7 separate regions of the Homo sapiens genome follow, and all the other regions are linked to region 1. The links are contacts of gene promoters, found by promoter capture Hi-C in blood cells and fetal thymus (Javierre and others, 2016). All regions are on one chromosome and are shown on one strand. Each heading gives the region's core, a stretch centred on a gene start or on the middle of the fragment in contact. The rest is flanking DNA. Distances are from core to core; before and after follow the strand shown. Region 1 holds the start of YARS2 (tyrosyl-tRNA synthetase 2). Region 2 overlaps SINHCAF (SIN3-HDAC complex associated factor). Region 3 has its middle 14 kb from the start of ALG10. Region 4 has its middle 97 kb from the start of LINC02963. Region 5 has its middle 14 kb from the start of ALG10. Region 6 has its middle 2.1 kb from the start of LINC02963. Region 7 has its middle 32 kb from the start of ALG10.

Region 1 (3,615 bases), core at 728-3,227:
TTCCACTGAATCGTCCGGTTGCCTGACAAAGAATTGATACAATTCAAATGGAGATGTCTTATCTCTGTTTAGCCAAACAGCGTTGCCAGCAGACTTTCCCAGCTTTGCTCCAGTTGTACTTGTAATTAGAGGAACGGTGATTCCAAATACATCTTCTCCAGTCAACCTACGCATAAAGAACAATTTCATTATGTGCCTCAAGCACAAGTGGTGGTAGGTTCTACTGTTCACCTTCCAGATTTCTTTCTGGTTACTTGCTCCAGGAAAACTTCCTTGACCTCCTAAATCTGAATTCTTGTTCCTCTTATGTATTGTTACAGTACTTACTCTATTCATTCTGAACCTCATGAGTGGTTCCAGGCAGGTTCTAGGCAGGCCAAGGGGAAGTGCTACATAACAATGGACTAGAGATTTTGAAAGGCTGAGTGGGAAGGAGAAAACTGGGTGAAGGGGTGTCAGGAAGAGACACTAAAGGAAATCTTCTAAACGCCTTTTAAACATGTGCTTTGCTCTGTTGCACATGAGCTAGCCCTATCCTTCACCTCTCTCAAGAAAATGCTATTAGACCCGCATTACTTGTCAATTATTTGGAGTTGAAAAAACTTTTTGAGATACCAACCAAGGACTAACACTAGTTTCATGGAGGGTGCAGAGCTAAAGCAGAGGCTAGCTACTCAAGGAGGCCCAGTCACGTTCTGGTATAAACACACAAAAGCAGTTTCTCTAATTAGAGAGGACGACTTAGGCGAAGCAAAACAGACCGACCAAATCTTCACTAGTGGTCTGTTTCCCTTTTTTTTTTTTTTTTTTTTGAGACGGAGTCTCCCTCTGTTGCCCCAGGCTGGAGTGCAGTGGCGCGATCTCGGCTCACTGAAACCTTCGCCTCCCGGGTTCAAGAGATTCTCCTGCCTCAGCCTCCCGAATAGCTGGGATTACAGGCGTGCATCACCACGCCCAGCTAATTTTTAGAATACACCGTTTACTCTTAATACCCTTAATTCAGCCCTTTAATTCTTATTAGCCAGTGTTATTAACGCCATTATAGAGCCTTAATGGGGATAAAACCAACAAGAGCTGGAACGAAGGGCAGCAACTACAATCCTAAGAGTGAATCACAGGCTACTAGTGTGTAAATTATTTGGTCCCAGGATTTCCCCAAGGTTTAAAGGCACTTACTTGTTGATGAACTCATATCCGGACATGATGTTGCCTAGTTGATCAGATCCGCCCAGCTGGACCCTGCATCCATAACGCTGGAAGAGGTAATAGAAGTCATAGGCCTGGAGCACCTGGTAAAAGAACTCGGCCAAGCTCATGCCCTCGGGGCTCTTGAGCCGCAGCTGCACGCTCTGCCGGCTCAGCAGCGTCCCCATGCGGAAGTGACCCCCCACTGCCGCCAGGAAGTCCACCAGGTGCTGCTTCTGGTACCAGGCCGAGTTGTCCAGCACAGTGAAGCTGCCCCAGGAGCGCCCATCAGTGAAAAGCTGCTGGTGATTAGCCGCCAGGGCCTCAAGCCCTAGGCGCAGAGCTCGCGCGTTGGCTCGCACGCGCTCTGTCTCCAGCGCCTCGCGTTCCTTGGTACGGCCGCTCGGGTCTCCCAGGCGCGCCGTGGCGCCTCCCACCAGCGCGATCACGTTGTGGCCCGCTCGCTGCAAATGAAACAGGCCCAGCAGCGCAAGTAGATGACCCACATGAAGCGAGTCTGCCGTGGGGTCGAAGCCACAGTAAATGGTTTGGGGAAAACTCGCCGTGCCACGGTCGAAGAGCTCTGGGAGCTCTATTTTCGTCCCCGTCTCCGGGAAGAAGTCCTTGAACAGACCTCGAGCCTTCTGCGCTGCCAGTAACCCCTGAGCGCCCGAGTGGGCCTTACGCAGCCCCAAGGGCAACAATACTGAGAGATTTAGGGTACCAGACCACCGGCCCCAGGAAAAGGACCGCAAGATGGGCGCCGCCATCTTGGTAGCGGCACGAAGGGAATGCTGGGATTGCAGAGGCTCCCACCACACCCACCTACTTACAGCTCCTAGGGAAGGTGCTTCAGTGTTTTTCTGCGCATGCCCGAGACGGTTACGTAGTTACGGAGCTTGCGCTCTCAGCAGTTGAGTCCCGACTCCAAGTGGCGATTCCGCCTCAGAGCCGTCGCCTTACGTTCCCTTAAACTTAATTTTTCCATCAGCAGTGTGGATCTGCTTATGATAGTTCCTACCTCATAAGGCTGTTGTGAGCCTTAAAAATTAAAGCATTTGGCACATAACGCTTCACAAATGCTAACTTGTATTTACATTTTCACGTAAAAAGATTGTGATGCGCAAGTTCTTTGAAGTCTTGGTTCCATGCAAAAAGCTGTTCACAGAGGTTGAGAAAGGTTAGGAATTGGTTTAAGTTCGCGGAGAGATAGGGAGTTGCTGCTGAGACGCAAGCAATTTCATAGTACCGATTCCCTAATTGCACCTCGTCCCCAGTATTCATCGGCTCTTCCAGGAGGTGGCAGTCTTGTCCAAGGTATAGCAAGAAAAACTCAGTGCAATAAAGTACATGCATCAAGTCCTGTGGTTTATTTATTTTAAATACAGTTAACTAGGTTGGGACACAGCTTAGCATGAGTGGATTCAAGTTAGTAATCACATCGTGCAGCGTGACAGGTGCTCTGAATACTGACCAGGGATGAGGTTCTTATTGGCAGCTGGCTGGCAGGTGATCTAGCTTCAAAATCCCATGTTAGAGCCTGATTTCTAGGACCGCTTTCAAAATCGTCTTAGGTAGAATTCCCTGGACTCTGAGTTGGGGGGGAGACTGGTTTGCAGGAGGGTAATTGGAGTGTGCTCTTAAGAACAACACCTATAATGGAGTGAGGGAGGCCGGGTTGGGCGGAGGGAGAAAGAAGTTGAACTGTGAACAATTTGTAATAGAGGCCTCAGGCAATCCAGTAAGGGCTCTGGAGCCGGGATTTCCTTTCAGAGTCATCCTGAATTGAGGCCAGGGGGCAGACCTTTAGACCCTCTTACTGACTGCTCATTAAATGTGGGATGTTTCTGGGGAGGAAGCAAAACGCTGGGTTAAGGCTTTTGGAGAGTGAGATGTGCAGGAAGGGACTCAGCTGTGAGCAATAAGCAACCAACACTCCCAGCAGCTGGGGGATTGAGTGCCTTGGTCCTGTGACTGGGATCTGGGCCATGTTCCAAATCATTCCCTACAGGACTTTTCCATTTTTTAACGTTATAAAGTTATCTAACAAAATGAAAACTTATTTTAATAATTAGTTTCTTTGCATGTATAATTATCAGTGAATTAGTTTCTCATTGCCAAATAGTAACTTCAATAGGATTTTGAGATACTCATTCAATAGGCTATTAAACATACTCCCAACTGCTTAAGAAAATAGTGTGTTCAAAATATCTTAAAATTTGCAATCATAACCTGTTGATCTTCAGTGTTTTTTTTTTTTTTAAGTGTCACTCTGTTGTCCACACTGGAGTGCCGTGGCAGGATCATGGTTCACTGCAGCCTTGAACTCCTAGGCTCCAGCGATCTTCCTGCCTCAGCCTCCCAAGTAGCTGGAGCTACAGGTGTGGACTACCATGCCTGGCTAATTTTTATTTTTTGTTTTTGTAGAGA
Region 2 (3,552 bases), core at 968-3,467, 1.5 Mb before region 1:
TTTAAAAGCCTTTTTAAAAATTAACCACAAAAGGAAGTCAACAACAAAAGGGTTTGTCTAGCTACAACTTTAAGGGGCTTCACGATTAATGTGGTAGCTCCTCATAATCTGGAAAAAAGTAGGCTGTCAGCATTGTTTGATTCATTTAAAAAGCAGGAGACTTACACAGCCTAAATTAGAATAAGTGATTTTTATTATTAGCACATTGTTCCAATCACCTTGCTTACAAATATTTCTGTATGCTGTGGTATTTTTTCACTCTAAGAATAGTACAAACATCAGGTGATCTTACCCAAAACAGCTCTGGAAGTCCTTTTCATAGCGTTTACTGTCAGTGAATCGAGAACTGGAGGACTTAGCTCTGCAAATACAGCAGCCCTCTATACTTCGGTACATCTTTGGCTTGTGAAAACCAAACATCTTTTCTTCTGGGCAATAGTCTGTAAAGCCAAGGGAATTGACATATCTTTGTTGAGGGCTGTAACAAGGAACCATTAAAGAGTTCTCTCTGCTCCACCCCACCCCCAAGCAACTTGGTGTTATATGACCAAGACAGGCAGGCAGCTCAAGGGAAGACCTCCTGGATCGACCTCCATTCTTGGCACTATCAAGGCAAGCGTATAAAACACAAAGAAAAGCCTAGTTATTTAAGGAGGACTCTACTACCTCCTAACTCGCCTAACAAACATGCAATCTAAAAATGGGGAAGAGAAGCATTTTTTAAAATCAGGTTTTGAAGTAAGAAATGCCACAAACAATCCTGTAAAATAATGAAGCTGTACACAATTAAGGATGCATCCTTAAATTTAAGACACACCTTTTTATTTTGCACATTTGCATTAACGTGATTCCCCTCTGGGGAAGTTTTGAGCATTTACCATGAATACTATTTGATACTAAGCACACAACTAGCTCACTATGCATCAGCCCATACTACTTTGCCTAATGGGAATTCAGAGGGGATTTCTTCTGTGATAAATGGGAAGTTCTAAGCAGTCAAGTTTGCCCCTGAATTGAAACTGCTGAAGGGAAGATGTAAAATTCACAAAAATCCAAGGTTAGAATTTAATAATAATAATTCCTTATTATCATTAAGACAAAAAAAGAACGAGCTCATGTTGTCTGACCGCTGATCTGCCCCTTAGTTGTTAGAGGTTTGTGGACCTCTTCTACAAGGCTTTGTGCCTGAGAGTAGTAACAGTGGGAGGCAAATGTCCCAGAGACGTAGAGTGAAATAAATTGCAGTCCTCCTGTTAAAAAAAAAAAAAATCTCAACGTCAAGGAAGGAATGAAAACAGCTCTGGGGCTGGATGCAAATATGTAGCTGGCAGTAAATCTGTACCTTAGGAAAAGTAATTTGGAATATCCAAATCAAGGGCCAGCTCACCAAAACAACCGGACTAAGAGAGGTGATGAAAAGGCAATGAATATAGAAACTAAACTCCAATGGACAAGTCAGAGGATGTGTGTATGTATGAGGGTCTAACTATAAATTATCACAAAATTATCACATAAAGCAACAATAAAAGAAAAAAATTTTTTTTTTTTTGGAGACAGAGTCTCACTCTTTCACCCAGGCTGGAGTGCGGTGGCGCGATCTAGGCTCACTGCAAGCTCTGCCTCCCAGGTTCAAGTGATTCTCCTGCCTCAGCCTCCCTAGTAGCTGGGACTACAGGTGCCCGCCACCACACCCGGCTAACTTTTTGTATTTTTAGTAGAGACAGGGTTTCAGCATGTTAGCCAGGATGGTCTCGATCTCCTGACCTTGTGATCCACCCGTCTCGGCCTCCCAAAGTGCTGGGATTACAGGCGTGAGCCACCGTGCCCGGCCAAGAAAATTATTAATATCACTTTCGTGTCCATAGTTTTAGGAGTTATTACCACAGAACACTATCTTTTTAAAGTTGTTTTAGAAATAAACTTAGATGAGTAAACCTAAAGCTTCAGTACAGTCATGTGTTGCTTAACAATGGGGACACATTCTGAGAAATGCATCATTGGGCATCCTTGTGCAGACATCAGTGTCCTCACATAAACCAAGATGGCAATAGCCTACAACACCCCTAGGCTATATGGGATAGCCTACTGTTCCAAGGCAACAAACTTATACAGCGTGTGACGGTACTGAATGCCGTGGGCAACTGTAATACAATGGTAAGAATCTGTGCATCTAAATATAGAAAAGGTACAAAAAAATATGGTATCATAATCTTTTGGGACCACCATCATATATGCAGTCTGTGGTTGACCGAAACGTCCTTGTGTGACATATGGCTGTATTTGTCTTTGGATTATCTCGTCTGATCCCATTCCATTCCAATTCTGGTTAGTATAATATAGCAAGTATTAATGAAAATGATTCAGAACCAAATATCCAGGCTTTTTATGTGTATTTTTTTGGTATTGAGGGGTTTTGAAATATAGACAGAGGTTTTACAACTTTTAAAAGAAAATTTTTTTAAAACTTTTATTAGCAAATAATTAGCTAAAAACTGAAGCTTCCCTTTCAAACAGGCTATTGTTAATAAACTGTTCCTCTGCCATGTTTTTGTTGGTGAGAGAGGCAGGCAAAAGAGTGGGATGGGGGCAAGGCAGAAGGCCTTCATGCATTTCAATAATTAAGTCTAAACAGTTACCTCTAAGAACTGTTTTAAAAAAAACATTTTTAGTTGATAATAATTTTAGTTAAATGCTTGGGAATTTGATGTCTTTGAGAGGAAGAAAAATGAGGAAGTACCCTCTACACAGTCATAAGAAAAGATCTAGAGAGGCCTGCTCAAATGAGGCAGATTTTTTTTTCTCAATCCAACAACAAACCCATATGATAACTGAAAAGAAAATCCTGAAGAAAATGGTCGCATGTTGCTTTGGAAAAAACAATGTCAAATGACAGAAGATTGCAGAAACAAGAAAGCAGAGTAGCAGTTATTGCTTTAATTTGTGTATTCCTGTTTTAAGGCAAAATGTTAATACGGCCCTCGTCCTCACACCACCCTGCGCTCTTCTCCAAACTCGCCCAACAGCTTGCATTACCATCAAGAAGGTCAGAGAACAGTTCCTCTAATACTCTCCAACTTCATCCATAACTCTTGGAAACTTCAGCCTCCCTTCTCAGCAAGGACAAAAGAAGCAGAGCAAAAAAGGCCAGTTCATTCCATTAATACACAGACCAAATCCTATTACGACAGACAGATTCCTATCTCTACCCTCACCATCTCTTTCCCTTCCCCCAAATAAACAAGTCCTCAAAGCTATCAGCATTCAGCTCATCTCTAGGATGTGAACTACCTTCACTGAGGTTGGATTTGACCAAGACGCCATAGTTTGTGCCAGTTACCACACTGCTAAGCTGTTAAGGATGTTAGGGTTATAGGTGAATATTGAGGCTTTCTTTTTAATCAGCAGCCATTGTGAATTAAGTGTTCCTCTTCAATGATTTTTTTCTGCTGGTGGGGACCTCCACAAAACTTACCCAGCACCCCTAGCAAGACATTCCAGTCATAAGCTGAGGAATATTCTTCTTAGACATAGGGGAGAATAGGCTGATGTCTT
Region 3 (3,738 bases), core at 921-3,420, 1.3 Mb after region 1:
TGACATAAAGACCTTTGTTTTAATATGAATGATTCCAGTTACCAAATGGAGAAATAGTTGTTTGAAAATTAATATTTAGCTTCTCAAAAGAGACTCCTATTTGGAAGCAAATTGTTGGTTAAACAGGACATACTTTAGATTTTTGAAAAATTCTCTGTGGAATAACAATCTCTTATTTTTAAGAATGTATGAATATGTGTTCTATATGCTTTTAAGTTATGTATTACATACTGTTCTCTAAAATGGAAATGTTTATTTGGCTTCTAAAAGTCATTTGTGAGTTCATGTTATTTAAAACTGCTTTTCAGTCAACTTATTCTTTATAAAAAAAGTTTGTTCAAATAGCATGTTTTTATTTCATTTCTAAATAAATTCATGTTTGATAATATTTTATAATGTATTATATCTAACACATTTTCTTATCCTAAGCCAAGTATTAGAAGCTTTGTATTTCCCTCACACTGTCCAGTTAGCCATTTTCCCCTGTCTACCACCTACCTAATCCTAAGCTTTATTAGTCATTTTAAAATAGAACCAAATCTTTTTAAACACCTGTGATGTGTGCTCATAACTAGCCTGGGTGTCTGTATAATCTTCCTTTTATTCTCATAATAATAGAAAGCAGTTAAATTACTGGCTGATCACCTTGAACTTGTGGGGGCTTGGGTTTCTTTTTTAGGCTAGGTCTGTAGGAAGCTCAGAGTATTTACCAAACACATCTAAACTTGGCAGGGTTCAAGCCCCAGTCTTTGGGTCTTGTGGTGAAAAAAAGAAAGTGGTCCCTACTCTGTGTTTGCAGACTTCCAGCTCTTACTTTCCATTGGGTGTCTTCGAGTTTCTCCCATCATATGCAGCTCAGAGGTCAGCCCAGGACTTATACACAGATTTTGGGATTCCCTTCTTCTGTGACTCCCTCTTTTCTGAGATTTCTCCTAATTCACAGCTACTCTAGCAGTCCTGAATTCCGCCCTTTCACACCTCAAACCAATCATATTGTACCTTTCTAACTAGGGTGTGCCCTCTGAGGGAAAAGTCATATAAACATGGATCGCACCCAGTGAGATCTTTCAACTGAGTCCATCCAGTTCCTGCCTTCTTTTGTCTACTCTTCAATGTTTCCAAAAAGATTTTTTTCCCCTTTTAAATGAGTCAATCTAGAGGAAAGCTAATATAATAAAAGCTCCTCTGCCATGACCTGCCTAGGAACCTTGTCTTGATTGTAGTTAACATGTGTTATGTGTAGTCTGTTTATTAGATAAGGAAGTTGTGGGTATTACTTTTGGTTTTGAGAAACTAAAACGGAGAGTTCCTGAAAATAGTTTAGGTGGCAAGAGTAAGTTTTTGGAATATGGACTTCTGTATTAGCCCATTCTCATGCTGCCAATAAAGACATACCCGAGACTGGGTAATTTATAAAGGAAAGAGGTTTAATGGACTCATAGTTCCACATGGCTGGGGAGGCCTCACAATCATGGTGGAAGGTGAAGGAGGAGCAAAGTCACATTTTACATGGTGGCAGGTAAAGAGAATGCTTACGCAGGACAACTCCCATTTATAAAACAATTGGCTCTTGTGAGACTTACTACCAGGAGAACGGTATGGGAAAGACCCACCCCCATGATTCAGTTACCTCCCACTGGGTCCCTTCCACGACACCTGGGAATTATGGGAGCTAAAATTCAAGATGAGATTTGGTTGGGGACACAGCCAAACCATATCAACTTCTAATATGGTACTCTAACAAAGTCTGTCATAGTATTTGTTATTAAATGCAATGACAACTTGAGGGAACCTTGTGTGAAAAACATGGTATCAAGAAACACAAAAGTGACCTACTCCAGACAAGATGAACTCACCTAATGGGGGCTAACTAATGCAAAGTACAACATGATTGATTATCACTGAGGAAGAATATAAGAGCTAGGGTGTTTACTTGAGAATAGAAATCACATCTGGCAGAAGGGACAAAGACATACTTCATGGAGAAATTCACATTGGAGATTATTTGTATGGAAACCTGTGGAGACATTGCAGAAAGCATTTCATACAGAATAATGTGATGCAAACAAATTACACAGTAAACTAAACTACCATATGGCTGAGAAGCAGGTGGTGACAGTGGCCAACACTTATGAAGTGCTATGTGACAGGCACCAGTCTAAATTTTGAACATGAATTTATTTAAGCCTCATAGAGATGCCCTAAGGCAAATGCTATTATGATCCCCATTTTTACTGACAAGGAAAATAAGACATAGGGAATTGAAACAGTTTACAAACAGGAAATGTGGCTCCAGAACATGCCCTCTTAACCAGGGCGCTATACTGATTCCTGCTAAACTTGCATCATCTGATGGCCTGTGCATCCAAAGAACTGAGGTTATTTTTAGGAAGAAAGAACAGTGCTCTGCTGTATACAGTGAGGAGCAAGGAAAGCACGTCCCACACACAGACCCACAGATAAATGGGTGTGGAGAGAAAAATAGTTATTTAGAGATGATAGCCAGGTTTCAGTTAAAACTAGAAGAATGGCTCTGTGAGACAGGCCCTCCACTCTCCTGTAGATCCTGTTGTAAGTGATGCAGAAGCCAGAGAGAAGGTTGCTCTCCATCGGAAACATGAGGAGTTTCGGAGACCTCCCTAAAATATTTGGCCTGAAAGGGTTTGAAGCCAGGAGGAGAGATGCAGTCTTAGGAGAAACGTTTCATGAGCTGTAGCAGGTACCCTATCAGTCTTTCTCAGTAAGTACTGTTCTATGTAATTTTTATATTTTCCTTGCAACGCTATCACTCTCTAAAGGTCTAGTGAAGAAATCAAATTTAGATGAAGAAACCTAGCTTGACCTAGAATCTTCACTGTGTGTGTGTGTGTGTGTGTGTGTGTGTGTGTCCGTGTGTGTGTAATGTATACATTGGGTCTTTGGGCCAAATACACTGTAAGGTTTCAGAGGTATAAACAGGCCCTGGGCTTTGGAGAACCATGGGAGGGGATGATCTTGATCTAAGTCAGTAGTTTTTACTTAGCCACATCTAGAAATCTATGTCTTGGTCATAAATTTTGTTCTTTGAAATGCAGGGAAATGTATCATAAAATGCAGGAAATGCAAGGAAAAGTAACACATTAAAGCTAATTGGTTATTAATATTTTAAGAGCATATGAGAATGTCATATTCTATTCCCTCCAGCTCTCCAACCATATCCCCGACACATACCCACACACTGCCTGCCCGCACGTAAGCACAAGTATTTCTGGGGATCATGAGCATGAGAACTTTAGGGGTATTGCTAGGAAAAGAAGGAAGAGAGTAAGTAGGAAGACTGAAGACAGAGAAAGGAACCACCAGAAAGAGTAGAAAAAAAGAGAGGAATCCTTTCTTCACATACCAGTGACTCTAAGAATACCTTTCTCCATTAAAATAATATCTCATCCAGGAGGCACGTTCAAATGAAATACACGTGGAATACTGATATGAAAAGACAGAAGAATATAATAGGATCTGAGTTGAAAGACCGTGCTTATCTCTTCACTTGTACTATAATAATTTACAGTGATGTTCTTTAGTTGGGGTAACTGTGATGGGCAACGCTGAAACCCTTTATGCCAATTTTGTTTTCAAAATGCATTGTCTTAAATTTTCCCTCAAGGTGGCACTCTTGGACAGCTTTTCCAGTTATTAGTCTGACAGGAACTTGGTACCATTTTACTTACCTTCATAATGTCACAGATGCTAGTGATTTTT
Region 4 (3,795 bases), core at 912-3,411, 1.4 Mb after region 1:
GTCCTTCTTACTGGTGGTTGGGTTTCGCCGTAGGCCCATTCGGGTGGGGTGATCTGGGTCTTGTTGGCTAATCCAATGGTCATCATTGGGAGTCACTGCTGCCACTGGTTTCAGTCGGCTATGGTGAATCCAAGGTGTGACAGCTGTAACTTTAAAAGCAGTAGGAGTAGACATGATTATAATATGGGGCCCATCCCATAAGGGCCCCAGGGTTGTTGAATTTCACCTTTTAACCCAGACAGAGTCCCCCGGCTTATGTGGATGCACTGGGTCTGTTAGACTTACAGGTATTCTTTTTCTTATCCAGCTTTGCCCCTCCTGCATTGTTACTCCTAAAGCCTGCATCTGTCTTCTAAGAATTAACTTTTCTAACTACTTTAAATTCCCTCTAATTTGATTAATAATTGGGGGTGGCCTTCCGAACAATATTTTATAGAGCAAATACCCAGTTTGTTTTGTAGGTGTACACCTGACCTGGAGGAGGACCATGGGCAAGACATGATCCCATCGTGAGTTTCCTGGCAAAACTTTTTTAGTAGCTGTTTGAGTGTCCAGTTCATCCATTTTACCTTCCCTGAGCTCTGTGGTCAGTAGTCTGTATGCAGTTTCCATCTGATCTTTAAAAGTTGAGTCAGCTGTTGTACTACATCTGCCACAAATGCAGGACCATTGTCTGATCCTAGGGTTAAAAGAAACCCAAATCTTGGTATGATGTCTTTTAGTAGTACCTTTGTCACCTCTCTTGTCTTTTTAGTCCTGGTGGAGAAGGCCTCAATCCACCCCAAGCAGGTGTAAACAAACATTAGCATATATTGGTAACCTCCTGCTAGAGGTAACTCAGTAAAGTTTACAAGCAGGTTTTCACAAGGCACAGCCCCTACTTCCTGAATTCCTGGAGGTCGAGTAGGTCCTTGTTTTGGATTATTCTGGGCACAGGATAGACCTTGTTTACAAACAGTACAGGTGATGGCAGAGAGCTGTGGCACATAGAAATGCCAACCTATCAAAGTTTCTAGGGCTGTCCTTCCAATGTGTGTTCCTTGATGGATCTGTGTCACAAACCTTGGGGCTATTGTCCCTGGGATGGCTAGCCTCCTGTTAGAGAACAGCCACCATCCACCTTTAATATATTTTTTTGTTTTCTGACCAAACCAAGTTTTTTTTACTGAAGAGTAATTGGGTACCTCCAGCAAAGGGGGCTCTATAAGGAGAGGAATTGATAAAGTTTTTTTTTTCAGGTAAAGCCTTGCTCATTGCTGCCCGCCCAGCCTCTCGGTCTACCTTTCTGTTGCCCTGCATCTCAGCTTTTCTCAATTTGGTGTCCTTTGCAATGAATGACAGCCACTTTCTCTGGAGCCCATATGGTTTTTAATAATTGCAATTTTTTTTTTTTTGCCTTTAGTAGTCAAAACTCCTGTCTCTTTGTATATTGTCCAACGGGCATGCAGGATTGTAAAAGTATATCTTGATCAGTATATATGTTTACTTTTTTTCTTGGCCAATAACGGTGCTCTGGTTAATGCTATTAATCTAACCTTCTGAGCAGAAGTCCCAGAAGGTAAGGCCTGAGCCTCAACCACCGAGTGCTGGGTCACTACTGCGCATACCCTGCATATCATACCCCATCTGTTATGAAACTGCTGCCATCAGTGAAGTATTTAACATCTGAGCTCTCCAAGGGGGTATCTCTGAGATCTTCCCAGCTCTAGAACACTTTGTCCACCGTATTTATGCAACAGTGGGGAAGATCCTGCCAGCAGTGAGGCAATCCACCGTCCTTTCAATCAGGTTTCTCCACAGGCAGCAGGGTAGCTGGGTTTAAGGTATTTACAGTCTCTAGTGTTATCTGGGGATTGTCATACAGAAGCCCTTGATACTTTAGCATTTTAGAATTGGACAGTCAACGATGTCCTCTTTGCTCCATTAAGGTGATTACAGCGTGTGGCACCCTAACTATTAACTTTTGACCTAGGGCTAGCTTGTTGGCATCTTCTATAAGGATTGCAGTAGCTGCCAACGCCCTGAAGCAGTGGGTCCAACCTAAGGCCACCAAATCCAGTCTTTGGGTAAGTATGCTACCAGCTGATGCCAAGAACCCAACAATTGAGTTAAGACTCCGACTGTCATTCCCTTTTGTTTATCCACGTACAAAAAGAAGGACTTTTTTTTTACATCTGGCAACACTAGCGTCGGAGCTTGGATGAGAGCTTCCTTTGTATCTTTGAAGGCCTTTTCTTGTTTCTTTTTCCACAGGAGCAGCCCTCTTTTTTTTTCTTCGGTAGTCTCATATAAGGGCCTTGCTATAAGGGAGAAGTTGGGAATCCAGGTTCGGCAGAATCCCGCTGCACCTAGAAATTCCCTGACCTGCCACCTTGTAACTGGGGTGGGCAATGCACATACAGCCTCCTTGCATGCACTTTTAAGTCTGCACTGGCCTTGGAATACCATGAATTCTAGATATTCAATCTCCCGAAAGCAGACTTTTGCCTTGTCCTTGGACACTATGTAACCAGCTTCACGCAGCAAGTGAAGAAGCCTCTCTGTTCCTTAGAGGCATTTCTCCCTCATGGGGGCAGCGAAGAGCAAATCATCAATGTGTTGTAATAGCACACAATTGTCACTAGGTGGCGCAAAAGCCTCAAGGTCGGTAGCCCAAGCCTCCTCGAAAATAGTAGAATTCTTTTTTTATTTTATTTTATTTTTTTAATTATTATTACTATTATTATTATTATTATTATTTTAATTATACTTTAAGTTTTAGGGTACATGTGCACATTGTGCAGGTTAGTTACATATGTATACATGTGCCATGCTGGTGCGCTGCACCCACTAACTCGTCATCTAGCATTAGGTATATCTCCCAATGCTATCCCTCCCCCCTCCCCCCTCCCCACCCCAGTCCCCAGAGTGTGATATTCCCCTTCCTGTGTCCATGTGATCTCATTGTTCAATTCCCACCTAGGAGAATTCTTAAACCCTTGTGGCAGCCTTGTCCAGGTATACTGCGATTGTCTCCACTGGAAGGCAAATATAGGCTGATTTTGGGAAGCAGTCTCAAGGAAAAGAAAGCGTCCTTTAAGTCCAGACACGTGAACCACGCGGCCTCAGCAGGAATCTACCCCAACATTGTGTATAGGTTGGGTACTATGGCATGGATAGTGACAGTGGCTTTGTTTACACCCTGGAGGTCCTGCACTGGCCTGTATTCACCATTTGGCTTGCGAACAGGCAGCAGAGGAGTATTCCAGGAAGACTTGCATTTTACTATAATCACTTGTTTATAGGGCTGATTTAAATGTTTTGTTATGTCATCAATTGCCTCTCTGGGGAGGGGGTATTGACGGACTGGTACCGGGGCAGCATGAGGGTTAAGCTCTACTACCACTGGGGGTCTGTTTGCAGCAAGCCCAGGGGGGGTTGTCCTCAGTCCATACACCTGGTACCTTGAAAAGCATTCCCTACATATTGTGTAGGTCTGGCTCTGGCAGCCTCCTGGTACACAGTTTATAGAGCCGCCATTCCTCAGTTTTTGGGACAGTTAGAGTCAATACCATTGCCTTTGGCTTCCCTATCTCCAGGGTCATATTCCCTTTAGGTGTAAAGGAAATCTGTGCCTGCAGTTTCTGGAGTAAGTCTCTTTCCAACAAGGGCACTGGACAGTTTGGCATGTATAGGAACTCATGCTGTACTTCTTGTCCCCCAATAACACATCTCTTGGATTTGTAAAAAGGTCTCCGTTTTTTGGCCCCAGTAGCCCCTATGATAGTGGCACAATTTTTTGTGGGGGGGGGGGGG
Region 5 (3,366 bases), core at 443-2,942, 1.3 Mb after region 1:
TAATATAAAATTGAATAGCCAGTTACAATTTACGTAAGAGTACTCAAATATAAAGAAGGTTGTAATTATGGAGATAGTCTAGGTAATGAACTGATTGTTTCACTAACGTTTAAATTTTTACATCTATGGCCTCTAAGTTCCAGCACAATAAATGGTGGCTTCCTTTCTTAACCTTTCCTAATACCTTATCCAAGTTTCTATAATGAAATCAGCTGTTTATTCCAATGGACAATTCTAACTTCCTAGGTGTTAGGAGCACCTATCTCATTTACCAAATCATTCACCAATGAATCAAAAAAGCAACCCAAAACCAAAAGAAAATGCCAAGTATTGGGTTCAAGTTCTAGATTCAACTACTTTACCATCTGCATGACTTTAAGCATGTTGATCTTTCTAGACTCAGAATTTTTCAGCTGTAAAATGGTAATCTATAGTTGCTTTACAAATCTTTGTAGGTTTTATGTAAAGATAAAAAACTCATACTCTTCGGCTTTGTAAATTTGGGTCTTTCATAAATACAATTAATAGTATTGTTTCTCTTATTGGTATATATGAATATATTCAACTTAAGTAAAACTAGTTTATGATTCTATATTTTTTACAATGTGTAACAGATTTATTTTCTATTCTTACAAATTATACCCTAGAGAGAAAATAAAACCAGGAATCTGTGAAAAGGCAGCCAATAATTTTCTCTCCTTATCCTAGAAAACCAGAAAATAGCAGCATAATGAGACAAGCATAGTAATTACACTATTTGCAGAACTAATTCTATGTGATATGATGAAGATGCCCTCCTGGCCCTCAATAAAACATAAATAAGCAATTTTGTCTTACAAAGCGTTATTTTTAAAATATAGTAATTAACCCCTTACCTTTATCTTCTTTCACTTTCCACTCTGGGATTTTGTATTATTTTGCAAAGTAGAGATGATTCATTTCTGAAAAATGGCAACCATTTTCAGTGTTGGCATAGGAGGGTGACAATATTGTTGGTGGATAATTCTGAGCGCGTGTCTCTATACAACATCCTAGATTCTCCAGCCTCTTTTCAGGACCAAATGTGTCTATTTCATTTTTTTCGTCTGTTTTCTAATAAAAACCTAAGTTGTTTTTGAGCCAGATTATGGGATCAATAAACTAAACACTTTAAAGTGTATGTATCCAATCTGTAACTAATTGCCCATAAAACATCACTGGAAATTAAATGAGGGAGAAGAATGTATTTATCAGAAATCCTCTTGAGAGTGTCCTACATGTTACTGAATTGAAAGCTCCTTTATTGCGATGTATGCTGGAAGAAAGGGGTTTTTAATGAAGCACAACATCCCTCCCTACACTCTCCCCCAAGTCCCTCCTCACAAAGGGGTATGAAATGGACCCTAAACTACCTTGTAAGGATGTCTTCAAGGTGTCAGCAGTATTGTATTCCTTCTGGAGGCTTTAGAGCAGAATCCATTTCCTTAACCTTCCTAGTTCCTTAGAGGCCTCCTGCCTTCCTTGGCCTGTGGTCCCTTTCTCAAATCACTCTGACCTCTGCTTCCATCATCATGTCTCCTTCTCTCATTCTGAGCTTCCTTCCTCCATTTTCTAAGACCCTTTGTAATTATGTTGGACCTACTGAACAGGCTCATGATGCTTAACCTAACCATATCTGCAAAGTATCTTCTGCCACTTAAGGTAACACATTCACCATTTGTAGGGATTAGGAGGTAGACACCCTTGGGGAGCCATTATTCTTCTTAGCATACTGCATATACTATTCTGGAATAAAAAGGATGTGAATTTAAACCCTGAATCACTGTTTGTTCTATAGGACTTTAAGCAGATTGCTGAAGTAGTAACCTCTTTCCAAAGCTATAAATTGGTGATCTTGGTTATAACTGCCTCACAGAGTGGTTGTGAGAGTCAAATAGGCCACAAAGCTAGTTGAATAATGCCAACACAGTGACTACATCTTATTTGCTAGACTAATATTTCTCAAATTTCAGTGACTAATGACCCTTTTCAAGAAAAAAAGTTCTCTTCAGCATTGATAAAATATTTAAATTATTTTTTATTTAAATAAGTACAGCATAAAACTGAGTTAGCTTTTGTTTATAATTCTTAAACAAATATATGAAGCAAATTTACAAGGCAAATTAATAGACTTAAGCAATGCTTGTAACCTAAATTGCATACTTGCTACTATGCCATTGGACTTTTCCAGTTAGACATTCTTATTTACTATATGTGTGTGTGTGTGTGTGTGTGTGTGTGTGTGTGTGTGTGTTTTGAGATGAGATGAGGTCTTACTCTGTCACCCAGGCTGGACTGCAGTGGTGTGATCTCGGCTCACTGCAACCTCCACCTCCTGGGCTCAAGCCTTCCTCACATCAGCCTCCCAAGTAGCTAGGTGCACCACCATGTCCGGGTAATTTTTTGTATTTTTGGTAAATATGGGGTTTTGCCATGTTGTCCAGGCTGGTCTCAAAATCCTGAGCTCAAGCGAGCTGCCCACCTCGGCCTCCCAGAGTGCTGGATTTACAGATGTGAGCCACTGTACCAGGCCAGTGTCCATATTTGCTATAGTTTTATGATACCCAAAAGCTCTCACCATCTTTCACTATTCAAATTATGCATTGGGAAACATTTATCAGTAGGATGGTCAGCCATGTTATCATTGGGCCTCCAAACATCGCAAGCCTGGGTATAAACATAAAATCAAACACAAGTGCCTAGTTCGCATTGCAGTATCAACTCTAAGAACATCTAGCACTGCATTTTCTAGTACAATAACCACTAATCATTAAAGAGAAGTTAATATAAAAAATTAATATTTAAGTTAATATTTAATTAAATTACCAGCCTGGCCAATATGGTGAAACCCCTCTCTACTAAAAATACAAAAATTAGCCAGGCATGGTGGCACAGGCCTGTAGACCCAGCTACTCGAGAAGCAGAGAAAAAGAATTGCTTGAACCCAGAAGGCAGAAGTTGCAGTGAGCCGAGATGGAGCCATTGCACTCCAGCCTGGGCAACAGAGAGAGACTCTGTCTCAAAAAAATTAATTAATTAATTAGTTAATTAAAGTCTCTGTTCAACTACCCTAGTTGCATGTGGCTGTGATGATCATATTAGACAGCATAAAATACATTTTAATTATCGTGGAAAGTTGTGTTTTAAAATTTTTATAGAGAATTATGTACCTTTAGACAACATCTAAAAATACTGCTGCTTAGGAAACACTGTAGTAGATGGTTGTCCATGAGAAAAGGAGTTATTCCTATTGTATTAACTGCTTTTTTCCCTAGTGCTTAGTGCTTAATAAACACTTGTTGAAAGATTGAAATTCCAGTTTAAAAGGCAAACTGTGTATATAAATTA
Region 6 (3,491 bases), core at 970-3,469, 1.5 Mb after region 1:
GCTCTCTGCACCGGATCCTGGTTCCCGGCGCATGGCGGGACATGCCCCTCCTGAGGCAGAGCGGCCCGCCGGAGGGGACGGCAGAGGACCGCCTATCCAAGGCCAACAAAGCCAAGCACATACACAAAATGTCTGAACCTGCGGTTCCTCTCGTACTGAGCAGGATTACCATGGTAGCAACACATGGGCAACAACACAAGGGGAACGCAAACAGTAAAACTAACCTGTCTGACATGGATCTAACCATAATGCTTTTAGGGCATGCGCACCGCTGTTGGGTGAATCCATTCTAGTCCGCCTTGCCCTTCGCAAAGAAAAGAGAACTCTCCAGACGCGGTGGATCACGCCTGTAATCCCAGCACTTTGGGAGGCTGAGGAGGGAGGATCACCTGAGATCAGGAGTTCAAGATCAGCTTGGCCAACATGGTGAAATCCTGTCTCTACAAAAATACAAAAATTAGCCAGGCATGATGGCGGGTGCCTGTAATCCCAGCTACCCAGGAGGCTGAGGTGGGAGAATCGCTTGAATCCGAGAGGCGGAGGTTGCAGCCAGCCGAGATCGCGCCATTGCACTCCAGCCTGGACAACAAGAGTGAAAGTACCTCTCAAAAAAAAAAAAAAAAGATACAAATAATTATATGGGCTCTGTTGCCCAGGCTGGAGTGCAGTGGCTTGATATCAGCTCTCTGCGGCAGCCTCCATCTCCCGGGTTCAAGTGATTCTCCTGCTTCTGCCCCTCGAGTACCTGGGACTAAAGGCAAGCGTGCCACCAAGCCCAGCTAATTTTTGTATTTTTAGTAGAACTGGGGTTTCACCATGTTGGCCAGGCTGGTCTTGATCTCCTGACCTCAAGGGATCCACCCGCCTTAGCCTCCCAAAGTGCTGGGATTACAGGTGTGAGCCGCCACACCTGCGCTATGTGTTTTTTAAATCTCTCTTTCTAGGGTCATGAGAATTCTCATTAATTTCACTTAGAGCTCCTGGAGAGAAAAGCCTCTATTATTGTCATTGTAACAGTAAAAAAAAGAGAGATTTTTTTCTTTTGAGACAGAGTTTTGCTCTTGTTGCCTAGGCTGGAGTGCAATGGCCCAATCTCAGCTCACTGCAACCTCCACCTCCCAGGTTCAAGTGATTCTCCTGCCTGGGCCTCCCAAGTAGCTGGGATTACAGGCATGTGCCACCATGCCTGGCTAATTTTGTATTTTTACTAGAGACAGGGTTTCACCATGTTGGTCAGGCTGTTCTCGAACTCCTGACCTCAGGTGATCCACCTGCCTTGGCTTCCTAAAGTGCTGGGATCACAGACGTGAGCCAGTGTGTCCAGCCTTTTTTTCTTTTTTTTTTTTTTGAAACAGGGTCTCCTTCTATTGCCCAGGCTGGAACACAGTGGCACAATCATAGCTCACTGCAGCATCAAACTCCTGGAGCTCAAGCAACCCTCCAGGCTCAGCCTCCCAAGTAGCTAGGATTACAGGTGCACACCACTACGCCCAGGAAATTTTTTCTATTTTTACACAAAATGCCTCAACATGGATTTTTTTTCTTTTTTGGCAGAGATGATGTCTCACTATGTTGCCCAGGCTGGTCTCAAACTCCCCACCTCAAACCATCCTTCCACCTTAGCCTCCCAAAGTGCTAGGATTACAGGCGTGAGCCACTGCACCCAGCCCCAATAACTTTTTTTTTTTTTGGCAGTCTCGCTCTGTCAACCAGGCTGCTGGAGTGCAGTGGCGTGATCTCAGCTCACTGCAACCTCTGCCTCCCAGAGTCAAACAATCCTCCCGCCTCAGCCTCCTGAGTAACTAGAATTACAGGCTGATGGCAGCACGCCCTGCTAATTTTTGCATTTTTAGTAGAGACGGGGTTTCACCATGTTGGCCAGGCTGGTCTTGAACTCCTGACCTCAAGTGATCCACCTGCTGTGCATGGCCTCCCAAAGTGCTGGGATTATGGGCGTGAGCCACCCCACGTGGCTCCCAAGAACTCTTTAAATGAACCTAGTGTCACAAGAACAGATAGCTAAACTGTATCTGAAAAGGTGGCTCATACGGGGAAATTTTTGGTGGATTTGGGGAAGCTTAGGGCAAATTTTAAACATGAGGCCTTTTGTCAGATCACCTACATTCCTTGGATTCTACGTGGGTTTGTTGCAGATGCTTAATATGACAAATTACATGACTTCTATCACTTCATTTGATCAGCCTCCCATTGACTTTCAGCCAAGTCCTGCAGAATCGCTTCTCAGATTGTATGTTTCCTCAAGACTAAGATGTTTTCATAGTCTCTCTCTAACTTCCCCTTTTTGTGGCTATTTATTTATATTTATATGTTTTTCAACTCCTTATTTTTTTTTCTCTTTATAAAAGCTTTAACCTGTGCTATTCTTGAGGGAAATACTGATGCATATCTAAACTTTAAGGGTGTTTTTCATCCTGGCTACAGACACTCGGTGAATAATTTTTCAGGTTATGGGAAAACCCATCATTATGAGAATGTAGCAACTTTTATTTTGCAGTAACTGTTAAAATTGTAGCCATGGTGCTCAGTAAAAGGGGACCTTCCCCCTGTAGGTGTTTGGAGAGGAGTTTTTTGTTAGTAACCTGCTTATGGATGGGGCATTATCACCTAGAAAGGAAAGAGGTACCGTGGTATGCAGTTAAAGGGAGCTGGGGCAAGAGCAAGGCAAAGAAATTCCCTCATGTCTTCAATGCAGAGCCAGCATTTAGACTTCTACTCCAGGCAGGGCCCACAAATCTCTGGCAGCCATGAGCACCTGTTTTGCTTCTGCCTTCTTCCTGTTGGCAATTTTGGGTTTGGGGGGTTTTTTTTAGACAGAGTCTCACTCCATCACCGGGCTGGAGTGCAGTGGTGCAATCTCGGCTCACTGCAGCCTCTGCCTCACAGGTTCAAGTCATCCTCTTGTCTCAGCCTCCCAATTAGCTGGGACTACAGGTGCGCACCACCAAGCACAGCTAATTTTTGTATTTTCAGTAGAGATGGGGTTTCGCCATCTGCCCAGGCTGATCTCGAACTCCTGATCTCAAGTGATCCATCCACCTCAGCCTTTCAATGTGCTGGGATTACAGGTGTCATTCACCGTGCCTGGCCTGTTGACAATTTGAGGGGCATGTAAAATATCTGCAGCCCTTTCAGCCAGTAAAACACCGAAGAATGTGTTACGTGGCTTCTCCATTCTCCTTCTTTCTCTGCCCTACTAAATATTAAAGGGTTCTCCTTTTCCCAAGCCCAGTGGAAAAGCTTCAGGAAGCACGGAGGTATCAGAAGCATCCAAAGAGATCACACCAAGTAATTCCAAGTCACTCTCATTCACCCCATTGGAAGTTCCTGCCATCCTGTGTACCCTGGGGGCTCCTAATGCAGGCAGATAATATCCTTGGTGTGCTGTTAGGCTGGAAGACTCCCTCATCTTTGCTCTTCTGTTTGAGAAAAGAAATGGCTGGACACGGTGGCTCACCCCTGTAATCCCAACA
Region 7 (3,728 bases), core at 408-2,907, 1.2 Mb after region 1:
TAAAGTGTCATGTTCTAGGAAGTTCTTGGATTATAAATCTTAATATATATGTAAGAAAAATAATTTGCCATTAATTATAGTTATTCATTAAAGCTTTCTTAGTCAAACAAGCATCATTAAATTTATAAATGATACTGAGTTAGTTTGGTCAGTTATCCAGTTAGAAATTTGCTCCCCAAAGATGGCTCTTCAGGTTGCAAATACTAATTGGCTTTCAGTGGGTAACAGTGAGTATGCTTAGTTACACATTTAAGGAAAGAAGCCAGGCAGCTGGACTCCCCACTACTTAACAATGGTATTGTGTCTAATCCAAAAGTACTACTTGACAGGAAAATCCTTATTGTCACGATTGCTCATGGTTGATGGTGTTTTTCTAACAAAGTTAGCTATTCACCTGAGGGCATCTTATTTCACACAATGAGCAATGACTCACAGGAACTGGGAAGAAAAAGAAAACTGACGAATTTCCTGAATACCTCTGCTACTGCTATATAATTAGCATTTGGCTATATGTATTATTTTATTTTTAGATGACGTTTTAGGGAACACTATTAAATCATAACTGGTAGCCAAAAGGACGTGGCCCGTAATCATGCTAAGAATAGAAGAGAAGTGTAATGCAAATTCAAAGAGTTGAATAATGTGATTTGAAACCTGGCCCTGACATGTATTAATATTTCATTTTGAAAACTGCATAATCTGAGTTTTAATTTCCTGATTAGTAGATAGTAAGTACGCTTACTTTACTGAGTTCTTAAAATGATAAATGAAATAATAAATAAGGAATATATGGCACTTTGCAGAGTTTGTTTTACATTATATAAATAAGAATTTTCTATCATTATCATGAATATTGACTAACTTGACTAAAGTTCACCAAGCCATTTCATCCTATGAGAAAGGAAACAGACATAGAGGATTAAATAATTTGTCCAGATTACAACTAGCTAGTAACAGCCAAAACTAAAACCCACGTTTCTAAATTTCAGAGCTGTATTCTTTCCATAGCTATGACTCCTTCCTCTGACGTTTCTGACATTGCTCCATGGATTTAATCAGACAATTTAAATATAGAGTTAGAATTGTCAATTAACTCACTGACAACCTCATGTAGCTGGTGAAGTGGGGGGTCATTCTGAAGAAGAAAATGTTTATGTATTGAAATAAGGAGACATGGATAATCTGTTTTGATGATTGGAAGAACAGACTTGTTCCAGAAAATCAAGATGCTTTTAAATCAAGATGTTTTTACTGGATCCTATTCTTTTTTTGTTGTTGCCGTTTGTAAGGGAGGGTCAGGAAATCAGAAATGGTTGCTGTTGGCAACTATGAGGATTGGGTGTGTAGCTGCTACTGACATTATAGGAAACAGAATAAGGAGTTTTGTTAGGAAGAATAAATCCAGCTAGCTAGCACTGTAGCTAGCAATAATTATGTACATGTAGTGATAGTACACACATAACTGAAATGGATGTTTAATGATGTGCTAGCAAGTCAACTAAACCTTTTAATGGATTTTGTTGTGGGTGAGTTGATATAAATGGGGAAATCTTGAAGTAAAAGAAAGTAGAAGCAGCTGATAGAAAGGGATATTATTTTCCTGTAGAAGGACATCTTTTTAGTCTTTTTCTCTTACCTTCTCTCCCCGCTCCCCACCGCCCACACACACATAAAAAAGTATTTCTAAAGGAAAGAAATAATATTTAGATTAGTATAAAATAGCCCAAATATCACAGGTGAAGAGGAAAAATAACTAAGTAAATGACACAGAAAGTAACCATCAGAAAGCCATCGCAAGCAGCACAAAGAAAAACAATGAGTTTAGTTGCACAGAAAGAAAGAAATCCGAGTAGAGAGAAAGAAAGCAAGCCAAAGAGGCACGATAATATAGTGAAGAATAGAAAGTAAGGACACCGGAGGAAAAACAACAGGTGACAATTAATGCTAGAGAGAGGAGACTAAGTTGAAAGCAGCAGAACACCCAGATGGAAGCCAATCCGTGAGCTGATTTTAGAGCATCTTTCTCCTTTGGTCACAGTAACTCTCCTCCTTTATGCACCTTCTCTGCAAATACCTGAAATACAAGGTAGCTATGACCTGCCAGGTCCTCTTGTTAACAGGTTATCAAAATAGATATCTCATTTATGAGATAAGCAGATTTCATATAGGTGCTGAAGTTCCTAATATCATCAAAATCCCATTATTTTTGGACATAGTTAAAAAACAGAGAGGAAGCCCACCTGTTTCTGTAACGGTCAGTGAAGCTATTCAGATCACTCATGCCACGTCACAGAAATATATAGCTAGACAAACATTTTTAATTAAAAATAATTTTAAATCTTTCATAAAAGCATTATGGAAAGGCAGTGAGGAAGAGCCAAGCCAAAAGTGAAGAGAAAACAAGGATCCAGACTGAGAGGAAAACATTGAAGCCACTTTTGCCCTGAGAGCATTTGCTGATAACATAAAATTGGACTCCTAGTTTTCTCCATTTTGTGAGGTGAGAGCAACGTAACTTAGAATTCAGAACCAGCATAAGATATATTTTAGCAGATTTAGATTTGAGCATCTCTATTCCAAGCTGGGATTCCCTAAAGGTTGTGCCGTCAAGGTTAAGGAGAACAGAAAGTGAGGCAGTTATTACATGGGGAATTTGATCCCAGGTTTAACTTTCTTGGATCAGGGAATTTCAAAACCTAAACTTGGTTTAAGTAGTTACTGACTAGTAATGTGCTCTGGTGCTTGACAGAACCAAATGATATCTCCTTTGGAGGAAGCTGTCTACATAATACATCACAAATCAATCTTGCAATTTTTCACATGCAATATTGAACATATATTCAACGATAATAGGGAACACAAGAAACTGGAGAACAAAAATGAAAGAATTAGAACCAAAGAGATGTGAAAAACTAGAATCATCAAATGCAGATGATAAAGCAACAATGCACATAAAGAAATGAATGTATTTGTTTGGCAGTTTTTAAACTTTTAATTAATACATAACTGTTATGAGAGCTCTTTTAACAAATTTAAGATGCAAGGAAAAAATAAAAAGGAATTAATTATTCCTAAAATATATAAAGTAGCATGTATTAATATGTATGCATTACAATGATTTAAAATATTGTAAATATTATTTACAATATTTTATTGTAACAAAAATAAAATATTTTTGGACAAATATTAACACAATATCTTTAGACAAATTAATTAGGAAAAAAGCTTTAAATCAACAGGTTTTACTTGCGGTATGGGAGGGTTTTTGGTGAGATATCTATACAGTTGAGAATATATAGCAGTGAGAATGAAACAATGATCTAAATTTCTATTAATAAAGATGGATAATTTGTCAAACATTTATTGCTTAAAGCCAAAATGCTAGCGATCTTTTTCTAAAGGTACCTTATTGAATTTTCTAAGGCTCACCTTTAAAAAGGGCTTAAGTGGGAACTATGGATAGATATAGGGATAATTTTGGAATAAATATAATACAACCTTAAGCATGTAGAGACCCTCTAATTAGACAATGGATCTGTCTACATGTAATGATAATTCTGTCTAGAGTCATGCTTCTTAAACTTTGAGACAGGATCCCACTCTGTCACCCAGGATGGAGTACAGTGGCATGATCATGGCTCACTGCAGCCTTAGCCTCCCAAGTTCAATTGATCCTCCTGTCTTAGCCTCCTGAGTACCTGGGACCATGGGTGTGCACCACCATGCTT

What was found. The method cuts DNA at HindIII sites, captures the fragments that hold promoters and counts their contacts. A CHiCAGO score of 5 or more calls a contact.
Region 2: a contact is called between a fragment that was not itself captured here and the fragment with the promoter of YARS2 in region 1, in 1 of 17 cell types (naive CD4 T cells). The highest score is 5.8, in naive CD4 T cells.
Region 3: a fragment that was not itself captured here is called in contact with the fragment with the promoter of YARS2 in region 1 in 1 of 17 cell types (total CD8 T cells); the score reaches 5.7 in total CD8 T cells.
Region 4: a fragment that was not itself captured here is called in contact with the fragment with the promoter of YARS2 in region 1 in 1 of 17 cell types (total CD4 T cells); the score reaches 5.6 in total CD4 T cells.
Region 5: a fragment that was not itself captured here is called in contact with the fragment with the promoter of YARS2 in region 1 in 6 of 17 cell types (total CD4 T cells, non-activated CD4 T cells, naive CD8 T cells and 3 more); the score reaches 15.2 in total CD4 T cells.
Region 6: a contact is called between a fragment that was not itself captured here and the fragment with the promoter of YARS2 in region 1, in 2 of 17 cell types (total CD8 T cells and naive B cells). The highest score is 5.7, in total CD8 T cells.
Region 7: a fragment that was not itself captured here is called in contact with the fragment with the promoter of YARS2 in region 1 in 1 of 17 cell types (endothelial precursors); the score reaches 7.2 in endothelial precursors.

Annotation. Positions count from the first base shown.
Region 1 is chr12:32,753,920-32,757,534 of GRCh38, forward strand. It overlaps YARS2 (tyrosyl-tRNA synthetase 2), which reads right to left and starts at 1,978. Exons shown (of 5, transcript NM_001040436.3): 1 at 1,177-1,978; 2 at 1-166. The coding sequence starts at 1,955. RefSeq lists enhancers at 918-1,557, 1,114-1,273, 1,558-2,197, 1,644-1,743, 1,764-1,993 and 1 more. The HindIII fragment of the contact is 6,832 bases long and covers 1-3,615 here.
Region 2 is chr12:31,297,785-31,301,336 of GRCh38, forward strand. It overlaps SINHCAF (SIN3-HDAC complex associated factor), which reads right to left. Exons shown (of 6, transcript NM_001135812.2): 2 at 293-440. The coding sequence starts at 420. Among named protein-coding and RNA genes, the nearest start is that of FLJ13224, 25 kb to the right of the region's middle. The HindIII fragment of the contact is 557 bases long and covers 1,940-2,496 here.
Region 3 is chr12:34,034,909-34,038,646 of GRCh38, forward strand. No RefSeq gene overlaps it. Among named protein-coding and RNA genes, the nearest start is that of ALG10, 14 kb to the left of the region's middle. The HindIII fragment of the contact is 3,326 bases long and covers 508-3,738 here.
Region 4 is chr12:34,120,679-34,124,473 of GRCh38, forward strand. No RefSeq gene overlaps it. Among named protein-coding and RNA genes, the nearest start is that of LINC02963, 97 kb to the right of the region's middle. RefSeq lists a silencer at 2,520-2,569. The HindIII fragment of the contact is 4,433 bases long and covers 1-3,795 here.
Region 5 is chr12:34,007,137-34,010,502 of GRCh38, forward strand. No RefSeq gene overlaps it. Among named protein-coding and RNA genes, the nearest start is that of ALG10, 14 kb to the right of the region's middle. The HindIII fragment of the contact is 4,477 bases long and covers 1-3,366 here.
Region 6 is chr12:34,219,564-34,223,054 of GRCh38, forward strand. No RefSeq gene overlaps it. Among named protein-coding and RNA genes, the nearest start is that of LINC02963, 2.1 kb to the left of the region's middle. The HindIII fragment of the contact is 289 bases long and covers 2,076-2,364 here.
Region 7 is chr12:33,988,740-33,992,467 of GRCh38, forward strand. No RefSeq gene overlaps it. Among named protein-coding and RNA genes, the nearest start is that of ALG10, 32 kb to the right of the region's middle. The HindIII fragment of the contact is 3,132 bases long and covers 92-3,223 here.